Regions from separate parts of the Homo sapiens genome. Here regions 1 and 2 are each linked to region 3. Evidence: promoter capture Hi-C in 16 types of primary human blood cells and fetal thymus (Javierre and others, 2016). All regions are on one chromosome and are shown on one strand. The core of a region is centred on a gene start or on the middle of the fragment in contact, and the rest is flanking DNA. Distances in the headings are between cores, read along the strand shown.

Region 1 (2,700 bases), core at 174-2,673, 300 kb after region 3:
GCTATGATTGGCCACTGCACTCCAGCCTGGGTGAGAGAGCAAGACCCTGTATCAAAAGAAAAAAAAATGGCTGCTATTGATTGAAAAAATATTGAATATTTTTAAATGCCTTCATAAAGATAGCCTAAACAAGCCAGAAAAAGAAGGCATTCCTATGACGCTTCCCAGAATTTGAGGACAATGTCAGAAATGGTGCAACCCTAAGAATGAGCTGTAAAAGAATCTATTAAAAATGAGATGAGCCATCTGCAAAAGTAAAGCAGGCTAATAAAGGACATGCAAGCTATTCAGTTGTAGCTGCCTGGCAGAGGTAAAGATGCTTTCAAAAGGGCAGTACTCTTTGAAAAGGCATCACTTTAGAAAATGAAGTCACTGTTTAAGCTGGTCATGACTAATTGCTTGGCTTAAATTTCCCAACCTTTTGCTGCGAGCTCCGGTACAGAAATTTATCCTCCATCAACCATCAACTTTTTACAGTTTTGGTACATGTTTGTATCCTTCAGCTTTGTATTAATTTTAATAAGACACTCATTGGCTGTTGCAGCCTATCTCAGTTGTACTGAGAGCCATAGGAAGAGGTCTGATGCTTCCCTTTGACCAGTTTTTTAGAGGGCACAGTATACCCTGGGGCTGAAGATGGTGATGAACACCCGAAGTCAAAGAGAGGGAACTGGCAGGAGAGGGAAAATCCAGCAGGACAAGTTGGTAACTGCATGCACAGTCTCGTCTTCCAGACCTCTCATATGCTCAAATCTTAGAGGGTTTTGTGTTCTATTTTAACAAGAGAGGCTATTCATGCTCGGTTTCCATCACTAGGCAAGCCAAGAGGACAAGCAATCAGCTCTGTTCTACAACACTGTCTCTGGAGTGGAGAGGAGGACGTCCTGCCCCTGGGGCTGTGACATATGCCACTCAGACCATCCAACTCCCTTTGGCTCTGACGTCATGCTCACCAAGCAAACTTTGGATTGTCATTTGATTTCCCATATAGACTCTGCTGCAGCACAGAGAATATACTGACCAGTTAATAGCAGTCAATACCCCTGAGTTCACTTACCAGTCAGTAACCTGAAGACACCAAATTTCCAGACTGCCAAAGCTGACATCTAGACTCTAGGCTGTCAACTCACCCATGTGTCATGACTGATAAAAAGACCTCTCTTTAGATTCTTCTTTACTTGTAATACTTTTCTTTACTAGTAGTGACAGAAGCTTGTTTGCTTGCAAAAGGAACATTCAATTTCACCTCTTTTAGATCTATTACGAGGAAAATCTAACTCTGTTTTTAAAATAAAATTTAAGAGTTTCTGCTATGATGGCAATAAACAGCAAAGGAATTAGATAATATTATTTTGTTTACATTGGAGAGGAAAGTCAGGACTGCCAACTTTTATAGCAAACAGATAATTACATGAGCACTAAAACACAATACTCTAAAAGCAGCGATGGCCCAAGCCTAGTATTATGTTGATTGTGTGACTCACAGTTTTTTATTTCATGTCTGGAATATTGTTTTACAAACGTGAAAGATGTCATCTAAAGTCAACTTACAGAGAACTCAAGCCAGCATGGACTTTGCCTGAGAATCTCAGGAGCCAGGCCAATTTACCATTATTCTTTACTAATCAAGCTTTACCAATCAAATAATAGTGAATTCACATTTGGGCAAATTATACACTGCCACAGTCTACAATGGTTATGACTTATGCTGAATTTAGGGGAAGGAAGGCTTAATGAACACTTCACATTGGATGAGATAATGTTATTTGGATTGCTAAAGAAAATGAAGGCTTTGAGGAAATGCCCCGAATGTCACAGAGCTAATAACCTGAGGACATCCCCCACAGATGTGAGCTCCCAGGCTGAAACAAAAAAAAGTATGGACCATTCGGCATACCCTGCATCTTCAGGCCTACATGCTGGGAATGAGGTTTCCTTGAGAGCGAACTTTTCCTTTAATGGGAGAAGGGGGAAGAAGTCAGTAAGAAAAGAAAGCCCAACACAAGGAATAAAAACTATGTCCCAAGGGGCTTCCAGAAGGGGAAGTGGGTCTGAGACCTGTGATTTCCTAATGCTGCTATTTTTTTTGTTTAACAGTAAAGTCTTAAAATAAAAAGGGCCTACGTGCTTATCTTCAGGGACTGACAATTACCAAGAGAAAAGGCCCTGGAAGCCTGCTATGAGGAGAGAGAGACCACAGGGAGCCAGCCTGCTCTGGGGAAGTGGGCCTGGAACTCATCTGTACAGCTGCGGAGTTCCCTGGCAGGTGCTGATATGCACACAAGCTGAGCATCAGAGATCTCATCAGACCACCAGATCTAGTGCTGTCTCCCATTCGGCAGGAGATGGGGACATTTTGCACCTGTGATAATAAAAAGAATGGAGGTCTGGTGGCATAAAAGCCACTCTTCCTCCTCTCTCCTCATCCCACAATTTTTGAACATGTGTAAACAGCTCCTGAATAGTGAAGTGGCGTCTGCTAACCAGACAAGATCTGTGGCCTTTTCTACAAGAAGTTAACACTTTCCTCAGACCTACTAAAGTAGGGACTTAACAAGTAGTTCCTTCAAGGCCGAGTGCAGTGGCTCATGCCTATAATCTCAGCACTTCGGGAGACTGACCAGCCTGGCCAACATGGTGAAACCCCATCTCTACTAAAAATACAAAAATTAGCTGGGTGTGGTGGCGCACACCTGTAAT
Region 2 (2,700 bases), core at 84-2,583, 340 kb after region 3:
TTATGATTATGCAAGAGATAGGTTACATTTGCTAAACTATGTTGCCATCTTCAGATTTCAGAGCAAGTTGTTAAGGTCCTGTTACAAGAATCGATTTCTTTAAATCAATTATTTAATTCACTTACTGTAGCAACACAGAATAAGAGAAAAAGGACATGCCTTTTAGGTTATGTCTGTGTGATGCTGTTTTATTTATTTATTTTTATTTTTATTTATTTATTTTTTTTTTGAGATGGAGTTTCGCTCTTGTCGCCCAGGCTGGAGTGCAATGGTGCGATCTCGGTTCACTGCAACCTCTGCCTCCCAGGTTCAAGTGATTCTCCTGCCTCAACCTCCTGAGTAGCTGGGACTACAGGTGCCAGCCACCACGACCAGCTAATTTTTAGTAGAGATGGGGTTTCACCATGTTGGCCAGGCTGGTCTCAAACACCTGACCTCAGGTGATCCACCAGCCTCGGCCTCCAAAAGTGCTGGGATTATAGGTGTGAGCCACCACACCCAGCCAGTGATGCTGTTTTAAAAATAAAAATTTGTCCAGGCGCAGGGGCTCACGCCTGTAATCCCAGCACTTTGGGAGGCCAAGAAGGGTGAATCACCTGAGATCAGGAGTTTGAGATCAGCCTGACCAGCCTGACCAGCAAGGTGAAACCTCGTCTCTACTAAAAATACAAAAATTAGCCAGGCCTGGTGGCGGGCGCCTGTAGTTCCAGCTACTCAGGAGGCTTAGACAGGAGAATTGCCTGAACCTGGGAGGCGGAGGTTGTATTCAGCCAAGATTACGCCACTGCACTCCAGCCTGGGTGACGGAGTGAGACTCTGTTTCAAATAAATAAATAAATAAATAAAATAAAATTGTAATCATCATTCAGCATTAGGTAAAATTATTGTCAAAGTAAAGTACTACTTCAAATCTAGAATAATAAATCTAAGGTTGTAACATTAGACATGAAGTATACATTTTAACTGAAAAATAGGAAACTGTCTGAGTTGTTCCTTGTTCTTAGTTCTGAGGGTATAAGCTTGCATTTAAAACTTCTCAATATATTCACAAACACAGACTGTTGGCTCAGCTTTCCTAACATTCTAGTTGCATGTGGCAAAAGAAGTAACCCAATTCCAGTACTTACTTCTCTTCTGTGACACAGCCTGCAAGCAGGCAGTCACAATATCACAGTTCCTCTGCACTTTATGCAGAAGCCTATCTTTCTGCTTCAGATGCCGAAGTAACTTGGCCGACTGGATGCCAATTCTGTACTTTAGCTCTCGAAGGATCGTCTTCAGTTCATTAGCGTCTATCAGTAAAGAAAAATAAGAATAACGATTAATACCTTGAGAGGAATACAAATTCCAGTGTGATATTAGTCCAAAGATAAATAGAACATCCATTTAAACCAACTAATTCTAGGTTTTCACTCAAGATTACATGTATGCATTCAGCTCGGACATTCCGATCAAATAAGTCACTCATTTATCTGCCCTGTCCATGAGACAGATACTGTAAGGTAAATTTATCCTTAAGCCTATCTGTAACATGGAGCAAAAACTCCTACTTTTACCATATCTAGCTCTGGCTGCAAATTTACTTTTCATTGCCTGAAAACTGGCATGTATATTTTGTACCACTGAAGTGTTCAGATGGTAAGCTTGCTAGAAAAGAATCTTTTTTAGTCTGTTACATTAATAATAAACCTAACAGCTAATTAAAAAAAAAAAAAAGTCTTTAAAGGCCAGGCGTGGTGGCTCACACCTGTAATCCCAGCACTTTGGGAGGCCAAGGAGGGCAGATTACCTGAGGTCAGGAGTTGGAGACCAGCCTGACCAACATGGAGAAACCCCATCTCTACTAAAAATACAAAATTAACTGGGAGTGGTGGCACATGCCTGTAATCCCAGCTACTCCAGAAGCTGAGGCAGAATTGCTTGAACCCGAGAGGAGGAGGCTGCAGTGAGCCAAGATCGCGCCATTGCACTCCAGCCTGGGCAACAAGAGCGAAACTCCGTCTCAAAGAAAAAAAAAAAAAAAAAGTCTTTAAAGTACTCATCTATGTTTACAAATGATGAGCTAAAAGTAAATAATTTTACCACATTTTGTAATGTAGATGAATGTGGCAATACTGATTTTGTTTTGAATATCCAGTCTTCCAATAGCCTAAAAACATTTTGTCTTAGAGGTACAATATTTCATCTTAGAGCCTCAGCAATTTTTCAAATATGGTAGAAAATAAATTTCCTTTACACAGATAAATTACAATAATTCTACATTCATAAAACTAATATTCACAACAGCAGTTTTTTTTTTTTTACTTTATTTTACTTTAAGTTCCAGGATACATGTGCAGAGTATGCAGGTTTGTTACAGGTATACATGTGCCATGGTGGTTTGCTGCACCCATCAACCCATCACCTAGGTTTTAAGCCCCACATGCATTAGGTATTTGTTCTAATGCTCTCCCTCCCCTTAACAGCAGTTTTTCTATAGGTCAAAACAAATTTGGGAACCAGAATTGTCTACTGTCTTTATATAAATGATCATTACGATTTGGGAGGAGGTTTTTTTTGGTCACATTTGATATGATTAGTCACTAGAGCATGATCTAGTAGGCAGGCAAAGCCTTCCACTCAACTTAACCTTAGCTAGCCCCCCATTAGAGGTTCTCTGTGGGGTTTGGATCTACTCATTTTTAAAGGGATATGGAGAAA
Region 3 (2,700 bases), core at 91-2,590:
ACAGACGAGGCCAGAGCCTTGGTTTTGCCCCCACGCACCTGTGAATTCGGCAACTTTTAAAAAATTATTTTATTTATTTATTTATATATTTTTTGAGACGGAGTCTCGCTCTATCGCCCAGGCTGGAGTGCAGTGCCACGATCTTGGCTTAATGCAACCTCCGCCTCCCGGTTCAAGTGATTCTCCTGCCTCAGCCTCCCGGGTAGCTAGGACTACAGGCCCCCGCCACCATGCCCAGCTAATTTTTGCATTTTTAGTAGAGACGGGGTTTCACCACGCTGGCCAAGCTGGTCTCGAACTCCTGACCTCAGGTGATCCGCCCGCCTTGGCCTCCCAAAGTGCAGGGATTACAGGCGTGAGCCATCGCGCCCGGCCGAATTCAGCAACTTTTAAAAAATATCAGCAAACGTGAAGATATCCACGATGTTAGAGGAGCCCTACCCCGGAGGGTCAGGTACAGCTATCGTCCAGGGCCCAGGGCACTCTTCCGGGCACTGCCGGGTTATCAGGGAGACAGACGGGAATCCCCAAATGCTGGGTGTCGGGCAAGTACCAGCTGGACGCCCTGCGCCTCGAGCCAAGGCCAGCGCCTGCCATCGGCACCATCGGACAGTCGAGCCTCGAGTTTTAACTGCTTGGGAGCGCGCAAAGTGCCAGCCTATCGCAGAACGGAGCGCATAGGGTTGGCGGAGAGAGGAATCCTACTGGCTGAAAGGGAGACGAAGGGCAATTTGCGCCTTCAGTGAGCGCCGGAGGAGGAACAGGAGTCATCACCTCATCATCATCATCATCATCATCATCACCATCACCATCACCATCATCAGCACTCAGTCAAGCCCAGCGTTGTCTGCTCTCCCCATTTCCCTCCCCCGAAGCCTCCCTTGGCCCGAGGAGGTGGCGAGTGATGTCCCAGGGGTCTCTGAGTGCCCTTCTCCGGGTCCGCCAGCCCTACACGCCCACTTCGCGGGCGCTCCACTGGGCGCACCGCACTGTGAATGCAGCCTCGGGGGTCCCTCGCGGCCCCGCCCCCGGGGGGGCCCCACAGCGCCCCCAAGTGGCGGCCGCCCAGGCCTCGCGGGCCCCACTCCTCGCTCGCACCTCGCTCGCGCCAGCCCTTCCCGCTCTTCTGTTCTCGCTCTATTTGCCCCGCTGACTGCTGGCCTCGCCAGCTTTGCCAGTCTTACGTCTCTGCCGCCCCCACTCCCGCCCGCGCCCCATCTTCTTGCGCGACTCGCGCCCGCTGGTCCCCCCCTCCTCCTCCCGCGTCCTGCCTGCCCCCTCCTCCTGCTCTCGCAGGCTCCTTGGCACCCAGGCCGGGAGGCGACGCGCCCAGCCGTCTAAACGGGAACAGCCCTGGCTGAGGGAGCTGCAGCGCAGCAGAGTATCTGACGGCGCCAGGTTGCGTAGGTGCGGCACGAGGAGTTTTCCCGGCAGCGAGGAGGTCCTGAGCAGCATGGCCCGGAGGAGCGCCTTCCCTGCCGCCGCGCTCTGGCTCTGGAGCATCCTCCTGTGCCTGCTGGCACTGCGGGCGGAGGCCGGGCCGCCGCAGGAGGAGAGCCTGTACCTATGGATCGATGCTCACCAGGCAAGAGTACTCATAGGTAAGGCCCCCGCCTCCAGCGCCTTCCCCTGCCTATGTCCTCCTCTCTCCACTCTTCAAGAAAGAGGGATACCTGCGTTTCTTGTGTTTTAAAACTTAATTTCCACAAAAGAGTGTTCCCCTCTTTTAATTAGATATTTTCCATCTGAAAGCTTATAAACTTCTCTTTTAAGAAACCAAAGCTGATCTAGTGTTCTGATCATGCTGTTGTTAATTTTTATAGCCCTGCGTTTTTAGGTGCACCCGGCATTTTTTTGCGTCGGTTAACTCCATGTCCATCCCTTTTCCCTGAAAGCATGGGTCTGTTGGCATCATTCTCATCATCCACAGAGAAAAATTAATCTTAGTAGCGTTGATGGTACTGAAGGCAGATGCTTGTGAACAGAAATGACCCACACTAATTCTTTGGTTTTCTTTTTGCTTGAAACTTCTGATTTAGATGATTTCAAGTCTACCTGGTTTGATCGTTTTATTATTTTAAAAACCAGGATTTGAAGAAGATATCCTGATTGTTTCAGAGGGGAAAATGGCACCTTTTACACATGATTTCAGAAAAGCACAACAGAGAATGCCAGCTATTCCTGTCAATATCCATTCCATGAATTTTACCTGGCAAGCTGCAGGGCAGGTAAGTTCTGAGAAAATTACCCTTTAATATTTCCACTGCCTTATGGCAGGTGGAAATAGTACTGTATAGTGTGTAGCCTGGTACATTTTACAGTTATTAAGAGAAATTTCTCATCTGATTGCCAAAGCAAATAAAGAATTAATTTCCATTTATTTCAAGTTGCCATATCAATTAATGATCTTCAAAAGAAAAGAACAAGCCTTGTGCCTAAGCCCATTATTTTGATAAGACTCAGTGTCCTGAGGCTGCTGGAAATATAAAGACCTCCAATACCAACATCACTGTGTTTCTGTGATCATTGACATTAAAATTTAACATACTTAAAGGACTCTTTTTGCATAGTAGTTTCTAATCACTTGTGACATTCTTCATACTTTACAACAAATTTTAAAGTTTGTAAGTATTTTTGACATTGTGCACTTTTAAAAAGTCAGTATGTTGAATGTTATTCACTGGAACGTGAATGTTGCAT

What was found. The method cuts DNA at HindIII sites, captures the fragments that hold promoters and counts their contacts. A CHiCAGO score of 5 or more calls a contact.
Region 1: a fragment that was not itself captured here is called in contact with the fragment with the promoter of WIF1 in region 3 in 4 of 17 cell types (M1 macrophages, endothelial precursors, M2 macrophages and 1 more); the score reaches 6.5 in M1 macrophages.
Region 2: a contact is called between a fragment that was not itself captured here and the fragment with the promoter of WIF1 in region 3, in 1 of 17 cell types (endothelial precursors). The highest score is 5.3, in endothelial precursors.

The regions. Positions count from the first base shown.
Region 1 is chr12:64,819,553-64,822,252 of GRCh38, reverse strand. It overlaps a transcript of TBC1D30 not described here. Among named protein-coding and RNA genes, the nearest start is that of TBC1D30, 3.7 kb to the left of the region's middle. The HindIII fragment of the contact is 418 bases long and covers 1,215-1,632 here.
Region 2 is chr12:64,784,473-64,787,172 of GRCh38, reverse strand. It overlaps a transcript of TBC1D30 not described here. Among named protein-coding and RNA genes, the nearest start is that of GNS, 26 kb to the right of the region's middle. The HindIII fragment of the contact is 624 bases long and covers 1,022-1,645 here.
Region 3 is chr12:65,119,945-65,122,644 of GRCh38, reverse strand. WIF1 (Wnt inhibitory factor 1) reads left to right here and starts at 1,340. Exons shown (of 10, transcript NM_007191.5): 1 at 1,340-1,601; 2 at 2,089-2,228. The coding sequence starts at 1,454. RefSeq lists a silencer at 1,020-1,179. The HindIII fragment of the contact is 2,494 bases long and covers 1-1,754 here.